Regions from separate parts of the Homo sapiens genome. Here all the other regions are linked to region 7. Evidence: promoter capture Hi-C in 16 types of primary human blood cells and fetal thymus (Javierre and others, 2016). All regions are on one chromosome and are shown on one strand. The core of a region is centred on a gene start or on the middle of the fragment in contact, and the rest is flanking DNA. Distances in the headings are between cores, read along the strand shown. Region 1 overlaps LAPTM4A (lysosomal protein transmembrane 4 alpha). Region 2 overlaps LOC105373454 (a long non-coding RNA gene). Region 3 overlaps LOC105373456 (a long non-coding RNA gene). Region 4 has its middle 17 kb from the start of RDH14. Region 5 overlaps NT5C1B-RDH14 (NT5C1B-RDH14 readthrough). Region 6 overlaps MATN3 (matrilin 3). Region 7 holds the start of OSR1 (odd-skipped related transcription factor 1).

What was found. Contacts are between HindIII fragments. The CHiCAGO score rates a contact against its expected background, and 5 or more counts as called.
Region 1: a fragment that was not itself captured here is called in contact with the fragment with the promoter of OSR1 in region 7 in 2 of 17 cell types (monocytes and neutrophils); the score reaches 6.0 in monocytes.
Region 2: a fragment that was not itself captured here is called in contact with the fragment with the promoter of OSR1 in region 7 in 9 of 17 cell types (megakaryocytes, M2 macrophages, M1 macrophages and 6 more); the score reaches 12.0 in megakaryocytes.
Region 3: a fragment that was not itself captured here is called in contact with the fragment with the promoter of OSR1 in region 7 in 1 of 17 cell types (naive CD8 T cells); the score reaches 5.1 in naive CD8 T cells.
Region 4: a contact is called between a fragment that was not itself captured here and the fragment with the promoter of OSR1 in region 7, in 15 of 17 cell types (total CD4 T cells, total CD8 T cells, naive CD8 T cells and 12 more). The highest score is 17.3, in total CD4 T cells.
Region 5: a contact is called between a fragment that was not itself captured here and the fragment with the promoter of OSR1 in region 7, in 13 of 17 cell types (total CD8 T cells, naive CD8 T cells, naive CD4 T cells and 10 more). The highest score is 15.5, in total CD8 T cells.
Region 6: a contact is called between a fragment that was not itself captured here and the fragment with the promoter of OSR1 in region 7, in 1 of 17 cell types (total CD8 T cells). The highest score is 5.0, in total CD8 T cells.

Annotation. Positions count from the first base shown.
Region 1 is chr2:20,045,064-20,047,763 of GRCh38, reverse strand. All of the region lies in intron 1 of LAPTM4A (lysosomal protein transmembrane 4 alpha), which reads left to right. Among named protein-coding and RNA genes, the nearest start is that of LAPTM4A, 5.2 kb to the left of the region's middle. The HindIII fragment of the contact is 1,471 bases long and covers 662-2,132 here.
Region 2 is chr2:18,507,215-18,509,914 of GRCh38, reverse strand. The region is part of intron 6 of LOC105373454 (a long non-coding RNA gene); the gene reads right to left. Among named protein-coding and RNA genes, the nearest start is that of RDH14, 52 kb to the left of the region's middle. The HindIII fragment of the contact is 2,480 bases long and covers 57-2,536 here.
Region 3 is chr2:18,589,568-18,592,267 of GRCh38, reverse strand. All of the region lies in intron 2 of LOC105373456 (a long non-coding RNA gene), which reads right to left. NT5C1B-RDH14 (NT5C1B-RDH14 readthrough) reads left to right here and starts at 2,699. Exons shown (of 11, transcript NM_001199104.2): 1 at 2,699-2,700. It overlaps NT5C1B (5'-nucleotidase, cytosolic IB), which reads left to right and starts at 2,699. Exons shown (of 9, transcript NM_033253.4): 1 at 2,699-2,700. The HindIII fragment of the contact is 777 bases long and covers 1,055-1,831 here.
Region 4 is chr2:18,542,644-18,545,343 of GRCh38, reverse strand. No RefSeq gene overlaps it. Among named protein-coding and RNA genes, the nearest start is that of RDH14, 17 kb to the left of the region's middle. The HindIII fragment of the contact is 5,341 bases long and covers 1-2,700 here.
Region 5 is chr2:18,566,971-18,569,670 of GRCh38, reverse strand. The region is part of intron 9 of NT5C1B-RDH14 (NT5C1B-RDH14 readthrough); the gene reads left to right. All of the region lies in intron 8 of NT5C1B (5'-nucleotidase, cytosolic IB), which reads left to right. The region is part of intron 2 of LOC105373456 (a long non-coding RNA gene); the gene reads right to left. Among named protein-coding and RNA genes, the nearest start is that of RDH14, 7.7 kb to the right of the region's middle. The HindIII fragment of the contact is 3,270 bases long and covers 1-2,700 here.
Region 6 is chr2:19,995,837-19,998,536 of GRCh38, reverse strand. It overlaps MATN3 (matrilin 3), which reads left to right. Exons shown (of 8, transcript NM_002381.5): 6 at 1,278-1,403. The region is part of intron 1 of WDR35-DT (WDR35 divergent transcript); the gene reads right to left. Among named protein-coding and RNA genes, the nearest start is that of WDR35-DT, 7.0 kb to the right of the region's middle. The HindIII fragment of the contact is 260 bases long and covers 1,203-1,462 here.
Region 7 is chr2:19,357,324-19,360,023 of GRCh38, reverse strand. It overlaps OSR1 (odd-skipped related transcription factor 1), which reads left to right and starts at 1,401. Exons shown (of 3, transcript NM_145260.3): 1 at 1,401-1,683. RefSeq lists an enhancer at 1,529-2,057. The HindIII fragment of the contact is 8,359 bases long and covers 1-2,700 here.

The sequences.
Region 1 (2,700 bases), core at 148-2,647, 690 kb before region 7:
AAGTCCAGATAATTTAATGGTTAGCTCACATGTTTTCGTGGTAAAACTTTCCTTTTTTTTTTTTTTTGAGACGGAGTCTCGCTCTGTCGCCCAGGCCGGACTGCGGACCGCAGTGGCGCAATCTCGGCTCACTGCAAGCTCCGCTTCCCGGGTTCACGCCATTCTCCTGCCTCAGCCTCCCGAGTAGCTGGGACTACAGGCGCCCGCCACCGCGCCCGGCTAATTTTTTGTATTTTTAGTAGAGACGGGGTTTCACCTTGTTAGCCAGGATGGTCTCGATCTCCTGACCTCATGATCCACCCGCCTCGGCCTCCCAAAGTGCTGGGATTACAGGCGTGAGCCACCGCGCCCGGCCTTTTTTTTTTTTTTTCTTTTTTGAGACAGAGTCTTGCTCTGTCACCAGGCTGGAGTGCAGTGGTGCGATCTCGGCTCACTGCAACCTCCGCCTCCCAGGTTCAAGCGATTCCTCTGCCCCAGCCTCCCAAATAGCTGGGACTACAGGCACCCGCCACCATGTCGGGCTAATTTTTTGTATTTTAGTAGAGACGGGGTTTCACCGTGTTGGCCGGGATTGTCTCGATCTCCTGACCTCATGATCTGCCTGCCTTGGCCTCCCAAAGTGCTGGGATTACAGGCGTGAGCTACCATGCCCAGCCAAGCTTTCTTTACTTCCTAGCCAGGGGGATCTGTTTTTCTCACGGTGCACCTGCAAAAGTTTCTGGATCCTTCTTGTATGTACTTATTAAATAGTACTCAGTACACATTGGTAGGATTGTCCTTTTCTCTTATTTTTCTCTCTACAGCAAGATGTTCTCCTGGAGGGAAGAGGGTGATGTCTTTATAAGGGCAGTGGCTCACGCCTGTAATCCCAGCATTTTGGGAGGCCAAGGCAGGTGGATTGCCCAGGAGTTCGAGACCAGCCTGAGCAACATGACGAAACCCCCTCTCTACCAAAAAAAAATATATATTATATTATATATATATTTATATATTATATTATATATATATTTATATAATATATATTTATATATAGATATATAATATATAAATATATATAAAACATATAAAAATATATATACACACACACATACATACATATATATATTAGCGGGGCATGGTGTGGTGGTGCATGCCTGTAGTCCCAGCTACAGGGGAGGCTGAAGTGGGAGGATCACTTGAGCCGGGGAGGCAGAGGTTGCAGTGAGCCTAGATCGCAGTAACTACTCTCCATCCTGGGTGACAGAATGAGACCCTGTCTCAAAATAAAATGTGTGTGATGGCTAACTTATTAATTAAAACATTTGAGGTGTTCATTACACATTTGTTGAATGAATGTCTCCTCCAAAAAATATTGTGAATACTCAGTTGTATCTGCATGTAACAGTAAACAACAACAAAAAACTTTTTTTTTTTAAATTATACTGTAAGTTCTAGGGTACATGTCCACAGCGTGCAGGTTTGTTGCATAGGTATACATGTGCCATGTTGGTTTGCTGCACCCATCAACTCATCATTTACATTAGTTATTTCTCCTAATGCTATCCCTCCCCCAGCCCGCCACCCGCTGACAGGCCCTGGTGTAGGTGTGTGATGTTCCCCACCCTGTGTCCAAGTGTTCTCATTGTTCAGTTCCCACCTATGAGTGAGAACATGCGGTGTTTGGTTTTCTGTCCTTGTAATAGTTTGCTGAGAATGATGGTTTCCAGCTTCATCCATGTCCCTGCAAAGGACATGAACTAATCCTTTTTTATGGCTAAAAAACGTTTTAAAGATAGTCAATTTTGATCTTTATCAGATAACAGGCTTTGCTTAGTTCTGTAGATTGACCCTCCTGTGGGTGCTTTCTCTGCATGGGAAGCCCTTATCTGGATGCCTCCTTAAACCAGACACACTGTTTTAATTATTATCTCAGTAGATACTGGCTCTGGGCAAATTACTGTGGGAAAACTGAAAAATGATTTTTTTTTTAAAGTCTCCAGAGAATCTTCTGGAATAGGTGTGGCAGTGAAAGAAGAAAACAAAGAATTCCTCTCTTCAGGCCCTGTGCTTCCATGGATCTGATACAGTTATTTTGTAACAAGTCAAATCTAACAGATTTCTTATTGTACACACTTACATAAGATGTAGAAGCTTTCAAAAACAATGCACACCACCTGATTTGACTGATTAAATTTACAGTACTGTTAACACATTGAGTGGTGAATCCGCAGCCCATGCTGCTAAAATATTGCTGCATTCTATACCTCTCCATATTGCCAAGTTTAGAAGTTAATAATTTAATCTTTTTTTTTTTTTTTTAAAGAGATGGGGTCTTGCTATGTTGCCTGTGCTGGTGTGCAATGGCATGATTATAGCACACTGCAGCCTTGAACTGGGCTCAAACAATCCTCCCACCTCAGGCACCTGACCAGCTGGGACTACAGGCACACACCACTGTCCCCAGCTTAATCATTCTTTTTAAATTACATTTTTATTAACTTTCTTTCCTGAATACAGTGAAAGGAAAAAGTGAATCAGGAATAAATATTTGTAATAGTTAGTACATAGTTGGATATTTTCAGAGAAATTTTGTATTGTAAGATTACAGTTAATTTTATGTATTTTTTGAAAAGCTAAACATGTAATTTAGAAATATCAACTTTAATCAGAGATAAGTTGCCAGGGCTTACATGTGAGCACAAGGTAGGCGTTCGTTGGTGA
Region 2 (2,700 bases), core at 47-2,546, 850 kb after region 7:
TGTTCTAATTAAAAAATAAAGATTATTAGACAGATTAAAATATTCATGTGGAAGCTTTTTATAAGACACATATATAAACCATAAAGATACAAATAATTCAAAGTAGAAACATGAAAAATAAATACTGATCACCCACAGGAACTGCTATAGCTATACTAATACCGAACAAAATAGATTATAAGGCAATATGCATAAAATATAAATAGCATCACTTTATAATAATACATAATTTTATTTACTGAGAAAATATAACAACTCTAAATTTATAAATGTTCATTAATATAGCTTCAAATATAGTTTGCTAAAGTTGACAAAATTACCAGAAGAAATAAGTAAATTCAGAATCAGAGGAAGAAATCTTAACACACCTCTCTCAGTAGCTGATAAAAGTTCAGTCTCCTCTCTCTCAAAAAAAATAAAAATAAAAACCCTAAAAAATCAAAAAATAAATATTGGACACAATTTTTTAAACATTATATTATATATATTATATTTTTATTGTATGTTTTCTATGTTTAGATAAACAAATACCATTGTGTTACGATTTATTCAGCACAATTTTTAAAAGAACAGTTCATTATTTAAAAGATCTTGGCAACAAAAGTTGGAAGAAAATATCATTAAAAGAGGGTTTATATTAATAAAAAGCCTGCTACAAATATAATTAATGGTTGAAAGTTTTCCTTCTGAGTTTTGTACTGCGACAAGGAGGGCTATTGCTCCCCTTTTAAAAAATGATTATACTGAATATCATAAACAGTGGGATAAAGCAACAGAAAGACATCATACAAATGTTAAGAATTAGACAGAAACAAAATTGTCATTATTTACTGATGAAACAGCTGCATATGTGGAAATTCAAAAGAATCTGTAGACAAATTATAAGAAAGAAAAGTTTCTGGGATCTCATATTATATATATATTTAGCTAGTCAACAAATATATGATTTTTACAAAATATATATTGCATATATACATTATCATATATACATTATACATTACCATATTTATACATTATATATGTATATATATTTGCAGTAAGTCACTAGAAAATGAAATTTTAAATTATACAATTTATAATAACATCAAGAAATAGAAAATATCTAAACATAAATCTTGCAAAAGTTATGCAAAAGTTTTACAGAAAATATTGTGAAACTTAGATAAGAGTTATTGCAGAAGACTTAAGTAATTGGAAGAATATACTGTGTTTATGATATCTGGAAGACTTCATATTTTAAAAATGTTGATTCTTCCCAAATTGGCTTATAGGTTCAGTGCAATGTCAATCAAAATTCTAAAAGAGGGATGTGTGTGCGTGGAACTTGAAAAGTTGTTTATCATTTTTTTTTCTTCAGAGACAGGATCTTGCTCTGTCTCCCAGGCTGGAGTGCAGTGGCACAGTCATAACTCGCTGTGGCCTCAAACTCCTGGCCTCATGTGATCCTTCCACCTCAGCCTCCCAATGTACTGGGATTACAGAGGTGAACCACGGTGCCCAGTCTGACAAGTAGTTTTTAAATGTATATGGAAAAGCAAAAGGAGAAGAGTGACAAAGACATTCTAGAAAATAACAAATGAAGAGTATTTGCTTTAAAGGAAATAAATACTTTCTGTGAAGCTATAATAATTAAGACTGTGGTATTGGTTCAGGGCAAGGAAGTAGCAAACAGTACAACTCAAACAAAATTATGTACATATGAACCCTTGAACTGTGATAGAAGTTGCATTTTATTTCATTAAATGAAACATATTATTTTCAATAAATGATGCATAAGTATATTGACCAACAATATGGAAAAGTGAAATCAGACTGTTATCTCACTTGGTATGCAAAAATTGTTGCATGTCATTTAAATATCTAAGAGAGATGAAACTATATAAATGAAATAAAATTATATAAATGTTTTCTATAATAATATAAGAGAATATCTTCATGGTCTTGGAATAAAGAAGACAAAAATTTATATGAGTCATAAAAGAAACAACTAGTAATTTAACGTTATTAAAAATAAGAGCTTAGGGCTGGGCGCGGTGGCTCACGCCTGTAATCCCAGCACTTTGGGAGGCTGAGGCGGGTGGATCATGAGGTCAGGAGATCGAGACCATCCTGGCTAACACGGTGAAACCCCGTCTCTACTAAAAATACAAAAAATATTAGCCGGGCATGGTGGTGGGCGCCTGTAGTCCCAGCTACAGCGGGAGGCTGAGGCAGGAGAATGGCGTGAACCCGGGAGGCGGAGCTTGCAGTGGGCCGAGATCGTGCCACTGCACTCCAGCCTAGGTGACAGAGCGAGACTCCATCTCAAAAAAAAAAAAACTTCTATGTATCAAAGATATCAAAGTTAAAAAGATAACACTAAAAGTAAAACTACAAACCACTGAATTGAAAAGTATCTGCAGCACATACAACTGACAAATATCAGCCATCCAGAACATTTAAAGAACTACATACATCCTGAAGAAAAAAAGAAACAAATGAATACAAAAAGATAATGAAAAGATATGAACTGGTCTTTCTAAATTGGCCATAAGCTTATGAAAAGTGGTTTAACTTCAGTGGCAATCAGAGACATAAATATTGAAACCACAATGTGAAATTGAATGTCAAAAAATTTTAAAGTTGCATAATATTAACTTTGGTAAGATGTTTCACTCGTCGCTGGTTCGAGGGTAAATTGGTACAATCACTTGAGGAAAC
Region 3 (2,700 bases), core at 194-2,693, 770 kb after region 7:
AAGGCATAGGGAAATGACTTTTTAAAATTTCCACCATGGCCGGGTGCGGTGGCTCATGCCTGTAATCCCAGTACTTTGGAAGGCCAAGGCGGGTGGATCACCTGAGGTCAGAAGTTAGAGACCAGCCTGACCAACATGGTGAAACCCCATCTCTATCAGAAATACAAAAATTAGCCAGGCATGGTGGTACATGCCTGAAATCCCAGCTACTTGGGAGGCTGAGGCAGGAGAATCGCTTAAACCTGGGAAGTGGAGGTTGCAGTGAGCTGAGATCTTGCCATTGCACTCCAGCCTGAGTGACAGAGCAAGACTCTGTCTCAAAAAAAAAAAAAAATTCCACCACTACTGTTACCATAATATTCTGTATCCTGCTTATCACTGTTAAGTAAACGCATTTCTTAAAAGATTCATGTATTTATTCAACAAATATTTATGGAAGTACCTCCTAGTAACTATTCTAGGCAAGAAGAAAGCAGCAGTAGAAAAGATGTATAGGTCGCTTCTCACAAGCAGTTTTCGCTCCAGCGGGACCAGAAAAGACAATAAGCAAATAAACTCTTGTGAAACAAAGTCAGGTTGAAATAAATGTTATGATTGAAAATAAAGGGACATAAGGGTTAAAAGATGAAGGAAATGAGGTATCATTTTTAGTGACAGTCAGAGAAGTCCTCTCTGAGGAGACTGCTTGAGAGCAGAGTTAAAAAAATAAGGAATTAAGGCACGTGTATATATGGGCCGCTGCAGCAGATGGAGCAGCAAATTTAAAAGTCTTGCGACAAGAACATGCTTAACCCATTACATGGCTTGGATATTTGTCCCTTCCAAATCTTATGTTAAAAGATGACTCCCAATGTTGGAGGTGAGGCCTAGTGTGAGGTGTTTGGGTCATGAAGGTCAATCCCTAATGGATGGCTTTGTGCCTTCCCATGGTAATGAGTTACGAGGATATCTGACTGTTCAAAAGAATCTGGGACCTCCTCCCTTCTCTCTTGCTCCTGCTCTTGTCGTGTTACACATTTGCTCCTTCTTTGCCTTCTGTCATGATTGGGAAGCTTCCTGAGGCCTCGCCAGAAGCACATGCCAGCACTATGCTTCCTGTATAGTCTGCAGAACTGTGAGTCACATAAACCTCTGACTCAGGTCAGTTCATGCTTTTGCCTAGGCTTCCAGACTGTGGAGGAAGGGACTCCAGCCCACAGCCCTAGATTTGGGATGTCAGGCTTCCCTAAGTGAAGTCCTACCCATGAAACCTATAACAGAAGCCTCTGCTCTCTCCCTCGAAGGAGTGCTAAGAAGCCATAATGAGTTTATAATCCTGAATAGTAGAAATAAAACACCTAATTACAATGAGATGAAATTCACATTAGCTGCTCTGGCCCCAAACACAGCATACTAAGAAAATAAAGATGCTCTTGGTACTTAGGGGTGTGATTTTAATAGAAAAGGTAAGGTTCTCTGAAGTTACTCTGAAACGTATAGCACTTACAACTTTGATTGTCTACATAACTTATACAAATATTACACAATAACATCATAACCATGCAAAAACAAATGACCCCTGTACAAATTTTGGGTAGAATGCTGGGGGTTGGGTGTACAGTGGGGAGTAGGGGAGAGATGAAATAACTTAAACCCAGGCACTCTTACCTACAGCCTGAATGTTTTACTAACTAAAAGACTCCTTGGATAACTTAAATTAAAACCATCAACAACTTCCGATATTCAACCTTAGCTATCAACTTGTCCCATGAAAACAGGCTGGAAACCTGCCTCAGTCCTTGATGATTTCACCAGCTCAGGTTGGCATGGCACATGTCTCCTATCTAAAGCTTGGGTGAAGATAAAAGGAGAAAACTAAAATGGAGAACATGTTTAGATTCTGTAAACCAGAGTTAGGGGCTACTTTTTACAAATATCAATTCTATTTGTAACTGTATGTTTCCTGTTACTTGCCAAAATGAATCACAAACTCATTTGTGGACCCAATCATTTATCCATGTTCACTCTCCCAGACTTTGGGGGGCTTTCCTCAGATCTGGAAACTATTTTTGACAGCTGAGATTTTGTTCTAGACATGGAGTTTAGACTTGAGTTTGAGTTTAGCTTTAGTGTTTAAAGGGTTAAGGATGGGGCAGCCCAGGGTTAAGGGTTAAGGATGGGGCAGCAAAGGTAACATTCTACACTGAGTCTAGCCATGGGGAAGGGGCTTTGACAGTGTCTTCCTCAACAGGTTTTGCCATTGAAAGAAACATGAGACATTAAAGCTAAACTCAAACTCAAGTCTAAACTCCATGTCTGGAACAAAATCCCAGCTGTCAAAAATAGTCTCTAGATCTGAGAAAAGCCCTCCAAAGTCTGTCTGGCAGAATGAACATGGATAAATGATTGGATCCACAAATGACTTTGCCATTCATTTTGGCAGTACCAGGAAACAGACAGTCACAAATGGGATTAATATAATGAATGGCAGAGAAATGCTTAAAAAGATTTAAAAAGGAAGTGGTAATATTGATATTGCTACATATTGAACATTTGAACAATGTTTAGACATCAATTTCTGAAAACAAAGACAATGGCTATGAGCAGATACACTCAAAATGAAGAAACATTTATTTTTTGTTTTTTAAGAAAAGGTTAATCACATATTCATAGAGTCAGTTTGTTACTATGGAATCACATATGATGTCATAAATTTGACAT
Region 4 (2,700 bases), core at 186-2,685, 810 kb after region 7:
CATACCTACTTTAATGTTTTCTGTTCCTCCTTAAAATATCTGGGATGGATTCTGTTTCATATAACAAATATAATCTACCAGGATTGCTGACCAGAAAGGAAAAACATAAGTTGGTAATTAAAATCACTTTGCAAATGACCAAGCCATGGCATATATAGAAGGCACAAAGAAATTCGGTATTACTACTTGAAGGGCTGGGGGTGGGTTGGGGGAAGAGAGGCAATCAGTATGACATTTCTTTAATCACAATTGTACAATGTTGAAGCCTTAGCTTAGTAGCCTCAGATATTTGAATTTGTCAAAATATCTGTCAATAATGAGAAACCAACAAAAGAACAGGAAACTTTTCTTTGGGTAGCAAAATGTATCCCAATAAAGAAAATCCATTTGGGAAGCCAACTTATACTCAGAATCTTAATTAGTTCTTCTAGAATCAGAGCACAGGAAGTGACTTCTGAGACTGAATGTTTAGTGGCATTAGCAGTAATATCTGCATTAGGCCCATCCTTAAGCAGGAGATTTATGCTCTGGATGTGTCTCTTTAAGTGGGCCTTGTAATTATGTGTTCTGTTTTGCTGACTTTACTGCATCTGAGTGACATTTTTTTAAAAAAATATGTGTTTATCATTTAAATGTTTCTAGTCTAGCTGAGGAAACATTTTGTCTCTGCTGTATGACAGAGAAGTAGAAGGGGCCAAGTGAACCAGCCACATTCAAAGACACAGGTAAGGTAGAGGAAGATATTATTCTTCCTCTTCCAGTTGGAGACACTGACAGTTGAGAAAAATCTATATCAGGATATAGATATTCCTATATGAGAAATATGAGACTTCATTTCCTAATATGAGATTTCTGGTGAATAGATTAATTCATCACAGCTGTTTTCCATTTAGGAAAAATGTAATTAATACGAGGCTTCCTTCAGCAGCCAATGTGATTAGGACTGTAGAATGACTCGTGATGGATAATCCTGCATAAGTGTTTTGGGTAGTGTGAATGGATTAGAAAGACATTCATGACCGAATCCTTGGTTACCTTAGGAATATTTATTCCTGTGTTTATGCTGCAAAACAAGTCAGAGAAGTAGAGATAGGAAGGGACTCAAAGGTTAGTTGTGAGTGGCCAAGCACTAAACTGTGAGTACACTGAAAGCAGGAATCTGTTTGCACCTTTTCTGCATCCTGCTAACATCTGGAATGGGGCTATATCAATCACTCACAAAATATTAGGTTGACAAATTAATTAGTTAATTAATGACCTGAAAGCTCAGGTGTCTACCACATTACTGATGGTCAGGGTAGATGGGGCTGATTTGGCTGTCCTGGTAGATGGTCTCTCACTATACCCTAGGAAATGAGTTCCATCTTTATTGAAGAAAAGAGAGCTCTTCTGGCTTGTGAAGCCAATGCTGGATTCTTCTTTAACACTCGTATTGAACAGTCAAAACAGTAAGCATGAAAATGCCGTTAAGTAAGTGTGGCATTATTTTTGACAATGATAGTCAATGGTAATTGGGAATTAGTACAAGGAAAACTAGAATGTCTACAAAGAAAGCATACAGACAATCATAATCATCATCATCATCATCCTGCCACAAATTCCCCTGGAAATTTCTGTATAGTTCAGTCAAATTATTGACTCCATCTTCTAGTTCTTTCTGCAGATGCCTGTGTATTTTAGTAAGCAGCCTGTCTTCAGTTGACAGATGTGACTTGCTAAAGCCAACACAATTAATTTTGCCATATTTAGTATTAATTTACTCCAGCTGTTAATTAATTTTCAAATAAGTTTACACGTAGGAAAAAAACTAAAGAAGACTTATTTTCTTTTTAAAATAGTGCCACATTCTTGCAAATCCCTAAGACCATGGCTCATCAGTTAATAGAATAAAATAGGACATGTGATTAAACTCATTAGGGAAAATTCTTTCCAGAATAAAAACTACTATTTATTTGAGATAGTTTACATATATTATCTCTAATTCTTGTAACAACATTGTAAACTATTCTTATTCCTAATTTATAGATAAGGAAACAAGGCTTCAGAAAACTCAAGTGACTCATCTGCAGCCACGATTTGGACCAAAATCTTTAGAGTTTAGAACCTTTGGCTTTTTTACTCAACCAGCAGATCCTTCTTTTAGTGAACTAAAATGATGTACTTAGAAAAAGTTAAAATTTCCTCTGAAATCAAAACAATCTTAGATATTTAACTCTCGTATATGGTTATTATTCAAAATTTTTCTCTTTCATATATTCATTTTCTAGAGTGGACGTTATTTTAAACAAGATTATTTCTGCCTGATAGGTCAAGAATGCATTAAAAAAAAATTCAATGACTACTATATTTAGTTTCTCTGTCAACACAAGTTAATTGAAAAGGTTTCTGCATAATATCCCCAAGTGTAAATTATTTATCAGGGTGGTTAAATAACCCAGTGCCACTCTAGAGTGTTGGTTTCCTGCCAGAGGGATATATATCATCTTTCAGGGGTTTGGAGAAATTGCACAAACAATGAACATGTCTGAGTTAAATCACAATATGGTGATCAAAAGAACCATATTACAGTACCATATAGTAAATGCAACTATTTCTTTTGAAATGCAACCGTTTTAACTCTTCAACATCTGCTGAGAATTCAGTGATTAGACATAACTCTGAAAACCCACTAAAGACTCCAGATATTTAGTATAGCTTTCC
Region 5 (2,700 bases), core at 29-2,528, 790 kb after region 7:
ATTTAGGATTATTATATTGTCTTAATCTTAATTAATATCTTTTCATTATGTAATATTCATCTGATACTCATATAATCACTCCAGCTTTTTTGGGGGGGCTAATGTTTGTATGATATGATTTTTCTATACTTTTATCTATGTCTTTATATTTAAATTGTGTTTATATTTAACTTATTTTTCTTATAGATATTACAGTTGGTGCTGCTATTTTATACAATCTGGCAATCCCTGTGTTTTAATTGCTGTTTTTAGGACATTTAAATTTAATGTGATCATTGCTTTGGTTGGATTAAAATCTACTATCTTCCTATGTTTTTTCTGTGTTCCAACTGTTCTTAGTCCCCTTTTTCTTTTCTTTTTTCCCCTATTTACTTACAGACTTATTGTGTGTTTTTACGTTCCATTTTATCTCCACTATTGGCTTATGACTCATTTAAAATTTTTTATTAGTTACGCTAGTGTTTACAATATACAACTTTAAGTAATCACAGTCTATTGTCAATGTTATACTCTACAACATCATATGTACTGTAAGAACCTTGCAACAACGAACTGCCAAACTCTGCCTCTCATGTTTTGTGCTACAGTTGTCATATATTATTTTATCTATTCTATAAACTCTCTATACTTTGCTACTGTGAACCTCAAAAATCTGAAACAGGTCTCAGTTAATTTAGAAAGTTTATTTTGACAAGGTTGAGGATACGCATGCATGGCACAGCCTCAGGAGGATCTGACGACATGTGCCCAAGGTGGTCAGAGCACAGTTTGGTTTTATTCATTTAAGGGAGATATGAGATATTAATCAACATATGTAACATGAACATTGGTTCGGTCTGGAAAGGCAGGACAGCTTGAAGCAAAGGTAGGAAGACTCCAAGCGGGTTTGAGTTTCTGATTAGCCTCTCCAAAGGAGGCAATCAGATATGTAGTTATCTCAGTGAGCATAGGGGTGACTTTGAATAGAATGGGAGGCAGGTTGTCTCTAAGCTGTTACAGGCTTGACTTTTCCCTTTAGCTTAGTGACCTGGGGACTGCAACATTTATTTTTCTTTTCCACTACTATTTCTGTTTTTGGCAATTAAATACCGTCTAGTAAATAAGGATGAGGCAAAAATATGTATTTCATATTCAAATTCCTTTTAATCATTTTCAGAGATCTTCCTTTCTTTGTGTAGATCAGGTTTTTCTCTGTTATCATATTCCTTCTGCCAGGAGATCTTTTGTTTTATTTTGTTTTGTTTAACATTTCATGTCGTACAAATCTACTGGTACTGAATCTCTGTTTTTCTTTGCCTAAAAAGTTTTAATCTTATTTAGTTTTTAAAACAATATTTTATTTTTACTGAATGTAGTATTCTGGGTTTACTGTGTGTTTCTCCCAGCACTTTAAAGATGCTCTTCCATTGTCTTCTCATTTGTATAGATTTTGATGACAAATGTTATGAATTTTGTATCTTTGGTCCTTAGTATGTAATGTGTCTGTTTTTGTCTGGCTGCCTTCATAATTGTCTATATTTCCTTTGGTTTGAATATGAGAGGGGAGTGTGTGTGTGTGTGTGTGTGTGTGTGTGTGTGTGTGTCCCACAGCATTTCAATGCTCTGCTCTTTTTTCCCCACTCTTTTTTTCTCTTTCTCTTTTCAGTTTGGGCAATTTCTATTGACCTGTCTTCAAGTTCACTCATTATTTCTTCAGCTGTGTTGAGTCTACTGACACATCCATTAGGCACTCTTTATATAGTTCCATTCAACTCTTTTCATTTCAATCTCTTTGCCAAAATTGCTAGTCTACTCATGTATGGTATCCACCTTTAAAGTAGACATTTAAAGATATTAATCACAGTTATTTTCAATTCCCTCTGTTATATTTGTGACACTTGGGTCATTACTAAGTCTAGTTCTTTTAATTTCTCCTAAAAGTAGATTGTTCATTTTGTTTTGTTCTGTTTTACTGTGGGACTAGCAATTATTGTGATAGATTGAATCAATCAAATCAGGTATTAAAGTTGTTTTAGGTTTTGTGGTTGCTATGGTTATCTTCATGGCACCACAGGATCCAAGTTTGTCTGGTATCAACTTTGTTCTTAGGGTGCAAACTGGCTTACCAGAGGGTTTTTCTCAAGATTTCTAGTCGACTTTCAGCAGCAGGCCTTCCCTGTGTGTCTGCTGCAGAGAAGGTCTCCTCATTCTTACCCCTTCCCAGCTATTTCTTCTATCTTCCTAGGGCTTAGGGATGAACATCCTGGATCTTGCCATGCCCCAGTGATAGCCAATATCTAATGGTACCAATCCTTGATAGTCTCTTATTCTCCCAAAGTTAGAATGTTTTCTTCTGTAACAGTGGATCTTTACTCATGCCCTGGAGGATAACAGTGTTTGAAGCTCTTCTAGCAGTCTAGGCTCTTTGTTCCTGAGGGTATAAGCAACTAGGGGGAGTTTTAGTCTTTGCCCCCAGTGGCAGCTGCTCCCCTCCTCCACACCTGTACCATCAAGGATGGCTTTATTCTATCACCCCACTGCCTGCAGTCTTTGTCATCAGCATCTAGTGAAGTCCATGGAGAAAAGCCTAAAAGAGAGTGTGTACTTCTTGTGCCTGTGGATCCTAGGGCTTCTATGCTCTCTCATTGGTGGACCCTAGTTCTTTGTCAATGTCTTTTTGAAATTACTTGAATTGCTTGTACTTGCTTGTATGGAAGCTGG
Region 6 (2,700 bases), core at 83-2,582, 640 kb before region 7:
CAATACACCTGCCTTGGCTTCCCAAAGTGCTGGGATTACAGGTGTGAGCCACTGTGCCTGGCCTATTTATATATTTTAAAGTAATAGTGAATACTGCTATAAAGCTGGGGAACATACCATGGATCAGATCCCTTCTAATGGTCTGCTTTTCCGTTGCTAGTGGTAGGAAGGCTTGTAAATTAAATGTGGAGCCCCAAATAAGGGCCAGGGGCTGGAAGCATGTCCATTTGCCACCTGTAGAGTGGGTACTAACCTGGAATGAGGGGGAAAAAAATGAAACACCCTGCTATAAGGCATTTTGCTGAAAAAAAAATCTAAATTGTAGCACTGAAAGGGAATAGCCATATTAAGGTTGGAAAGGCACTTTATGTATAGATTATATAGCGTCTCACATTTCACAAGAAGCTATTCTATAGGCATTAGTGAGCCACAAAAGGTTCTGCCCATGAAATGACATTTAAGAGGAAAATTAGAGGGAAATAAACTATTTTGGTTCCTGCAATGGCAGAGGAGGAACCTATGTCTTCCAGGAAGGCTTTCTGGATTTCAAAGGAGAATTACTGTTTTATTTGTCCTAGGCCAGTCTGAACATGGGATGAGTATGGCACTTTGCTCTCCTCTCCACTCAAATTTGGGCAAACTGCATTTGTCCCTGAAATGTTATTTGTGATAGATAGTAAGTACTTCACTCTCTAATCATACACATCATCATTACTAACCCTGTATCATTTCCCCATCTGTGCTTGTGTGTGTGTGTGTGTGTGTGCATGTGTCTCCTGGTCAGTCTTTTCTGTTACACTTTGTAAGCTATGAAGGCAGGCACTTGGTCAATATAGTGCTTTTTGTGCAGCATCAAACTTAGCTCCATGTATGATTAGGTCCCTAAAACATTACTTTTGGTGATGATGATGATGATCCATGAGTAGCTGGGGATGCTAGAAGCATTGATAGTCATCGGGAAAGGCTGGAGGTAAGTTCTGGAATATAGTCAAGACTCAGTGCTGCCCAGTGCTGTGGGTAGAAAAAAAGGAAAGGTACCCTTAGATATCTGTGAGAGATATAAAGGAAAGGAGTGTGTGTGATGTGAGGCCAAAGGGATGAGAGGTATGGGAAGAGAAAACAGGCTTGCTCCTGCAGCATGGGGCCTGTTGCTGACTACTGACTACTACATTCTCAGCACTTGTGGGGACCAAATGGAAGCTTCTCCTCTCAAACATTTGTGTTTACTTTTCTATTTAATGTGTGAATATTTTCTTTCCTGCACCACGTGCGGTCAGTCCGTGACAAGTGTGCCCTAGGCTCTCATGGTTGCCAGCACATTTGTGTGAGTGATGGGGCCGCATCCTACCACTGTGATTGCTATCCTGGCTACACCTTAAATGAGGACAAGAAAACATGTTCAGGTGAGGATCAGCCCTTTAAGGCTATTTCCTTTGGTAGGAAAATTTTTCAGGAGCAAGCTTTTTTCTTTCTGTCTAAGACACAGTTGTGATTCTTTCTCCCTGTCAGAATTCTCCAGTGGCTCCCACTGGTCTACAGAATAAAACAATGATACCCCTATACCAGGCAGCCTACCCTCCATGATCTGTTTCTGTCTTCTCTGTTTTTCACATTTTTCTTAATAACTAAACTTTCTGCCTAAGTCTGAATTTTTTTTATTGTGGTAAAATACACATACAATTTACCATTTCAATTATTTTCAAGTGTATAGTTCAGTGGCATTAAGTACATTTACATTGTTGGGCAACCACCACCAGTATCCATCTCCAGAAATTTTTTATCATCCCAAAATAAAAGTCTGTGCCGATGAAACAATAACTGCCCATCACCCGCTCCCCTCAGCCCATGGTAACTACTTCTCTCATCCTGGCTTTTAAAACTTTTCTACTACATTTGCCCCCAGATTCACTGCTTCTTCCTGCATCCTGGTCCAGCCACAGTGGGCTCTTTGATGGTCCAGGAGCATGCCCTGCACTCACTCATTCCCACCCTCCCCTCAATGCTTTTGCTTGTCAGAATTTGCTTGCCAACATTTGGTTTTGTTGAATTAAATTTTTGCCAATCCAGTGGATGTTTTTTTCATTTCCTGGTTACTAATGAGGTGAGGCATCTTTTCCTGGAGAGTACTGCCATTTTAACAGTCTTTCATTGCATTAACATGGTATGTCTTTAATTTAATTTAATTTTATTTTATTTTAGGTCTTCTTTAATTTCTTTCAAAATTGTTTTGTAGTTTTCAGTGTACAAGTCTTGTACTTTTAAAAATATTTATTCCTAACTATTTTATTCCTTCTGGTGCTATTATAAGCACCATTTCTCCATTTCTCAACTTTCAATTTTGCTACAACCCAGGTTTGAGAAATGGAGTTTGAGATCCATTTCTCAACTTTCAATTTTTCTACAATCCAGGTTTACAATTTTCTATGAAGTGTTGTAATTAAGACTATCCCACTGAACCCATGCCCTGCTAGAGCTTAGAGACTATCAGGCACGACAGACACTGAACAAGTATTATATATACCCATCTTATGGGTACAGGGATAATGGACATGTAGTTGATCTTCAATAGATACTTCCTGGTTTATTGACTGATTAACTAAGATGGGATTTGGACTGGCTGTCCCTAAAAGGTTCAATAGGATTCAGACAGGTGGATAGATGATAGATTATATTTAATGAATTTATGATCTCCCATCCCTA
Region 7 (2,700 bases), core at 152-2,651:
CCAGGGGTTAGAGGCTAGATTCTGTTCTAAAGGCCTGGGGATATAAGGAAATCCTCTTTCAACTATGCCTTTGAGGGAGGGGAGTCTTCATTACCATCTCCCTAGGTCAGGTATTACAACCTTCTTCACCTCCCAAGAAAATCAGATTAGCTTTGCAAACCAAAGCTGGAGATAGCAGAAGCTCCTCGGGAGAGAAGCAGTACAGTACTTAGGGACCCACGGAATCTAGGATCCAGCTCCAAGAGTCACTCAGCAGCAACTCTGGGGCAAAGGCAGAGAGTGCAGTTGTGTGATCTGGACCCACACAAGTCCCAGGAAACCAGTGACTCCTCCTTGCCAAACCCAAGGCCTGGAAGGGTATTCCAGAAAGGCATTAGGGAGGGATTGGGCTGGGGTCAGCCGGAGGTCAGCTTTCAGAGATGGGTAGTCAAGGGGGTGATGGTACCCTCCATAATGCCTAGGCAATGAAGATAGAATTTTTAATGTCCAGAACTCTGATTCCTTTCCGATTAAAAACTCCACCTGAACCAGCTCCTTGACTCAGAGGCCCTGGAACTGACAACTTTGCAGCTCGTCTAGCTTGCCAGTGCGGCTCTCTAAACTCTGATCCATCCTAAAACAAATATGTAAGTAGAGAGTGCCACTGTGCATTGGGGTGAAATCTCAGAGAGTTCTGGGCCCCAGGAAAATAACTTTCCTGACCTCCTTTCCCTACTCTTTGTTCTTTCTACTGGACTCCAGAACTTAGGGTCTGGGGTCAACCATAAGCACTCAGATGTTACAGCTCGCTTGCTTCGGTGACCCTGGCCCTCCCGCACCAGGAATTAACCAGCGCTGCCTGGGTTAACACCCTGGCCCCGAGCACGCTTGGATAGCCAGGAGCTGCTCCACACTCGGGGTCTGCCGCCTCTGGAAAGAGATTCTGGGAGGAGATGCGACTCTGTCAGGCGCCAAAGTGCGTTGAAACCCAAGCCGCGGTGTGGGGATCCCGGTGCACAGAGCTACTGCCCCTCCCTCCCTCCTCCCAAAGAGCACGGGCTGTGTCCTAGGAGCCCAAGTATAGGACCTCGAAACGTGCGGTGCCAGCCCGCTCTCATCTGCTAGGGACCGTTTCCTCCAGTGCGCCAGGCGTGCCGCTCTGGACCTAAAAAGGCAGCAGGGGTCGCGCGGGACTGAAGAGGAGGGGACGCAGGTTGGGAGAGGCCGGGTCCAAGCGAGAGCAGCTGCCAAAGTCTGCTGCCCGGGTCAGCAAAAACTTTGTCTTTCATTGCGCAGGCGCAGGGCAGGGTTGGGGGGCAGGGGAGGGAGGGGAGGAATCCTGAGGCAAGGGGCGGGGGTGGGGGTGGTGGAGGAGGGAGGGTGGTGGATTAAAATAAGTAGGCGGCTCGGTGCTAAGGGATGAGTGAGTCGGAGCTCGGCCTCTCCCCGGCACGTTCTCAGCTGCTCCTGGTTCAGACCCAGCGAGGGAGCCGCGAGCGAGGCTCACCGTCCCCGGCGTGCAGGATCCGGGGCTGCTGAGCGCTCGCTCCCGCGTGTCCGGCGCTTGGAGTCCCCGCGGCAGGAGAGGAGTCGGGACACTAGAGCTCCAGGGGCGCCTGTGGGCTCCAGGGCCTCCGGCTTCCCCAGTCCCCTTCAGCTAAAGCCCCAGAGACGTGCTCAGCCCCAGGACCTCTGCGGAACAAGGTAATTGCAGTCCTGGGCGCCTGGGCTCAGCAAAGCGAATGCGGGCAGGACTCCCAGGTTCCTTGTCACTGCTCGGCGGGTGCCTCCTCTCTCTCAATGCCCCTGAAGGAAGCTCTTGCCAAACGAATGCTGTAGGACTTTTGTGAAAGTGAGAGCAGGGTGGTTGGGGGTGCTGCCTCAGGACTTCCTGCGCGGGGTCCTCGGCCTCTGACCGCTGGGGATTAAGGGGGGCGGGCCTCCGCTACTGCGGCCAGCCCGCCCGGCTCTGCGGAATCACGGGCGAGGTGCCCACGGACTTTGAAAGTCAATCTGTGGGCCCCCTTTAAGAAACCAGAGCAACTTCAGCGGGCACAAACTTTCCTGAGACGCGCTCCTAGCTCTGGCTGACGCCCAGGTTGACGAAGAAGGAAGGGAGAGGGAGTGAATGGCCACAGCCGCAGCCGACCGCGCCAGGGACAGGTGCATGCCCCAGCTCGGTAGCGCTTTCGTTCAAGTTTGTCTTTTGAGGAGTTGCGCTCTAGTATGAGGCCGCCTAGACCCGAGAGCGCAGGGCTGCGAGTCTGAACCCCGCCTTGCACTCGCGCTCTAACTTAGGGATATTCTCCATAGGATGATTGCTCTGTGTCGTCAAGGCCTGGAGCGGAACCCTTGATTGTCCTGGTGCAGGGAGGCAATGCAGTGGGCGCAAGCACTGCTTTCCAATTCGAGACCCACACACAGCACTAGTGGAAACTCTGTGGAGCCCTAGGGTCTCCGGGCTGGGGACAGGAAAAGTTCTGTTACTCCCCTGACTGTCCGCTAATCCAGCCGTCAGGAGAGAAAGAAGGGGGAAAGGGGTGAAGGGCTGCCTGCTGAACTAATTTCTCCTCGGAAATGTCTCGGAGAAGAATGAAAAACCACGTTTAGTCCTTTTTCAGCAGCTCAGGCAGTAGCGGGTTGGGTTCTCAATGTGTAAAGTAGCCGCAAGGGTTTCTTTGTTGCCACAATTTGGTAAATTTCACCCAGGCTAAGAGCTGC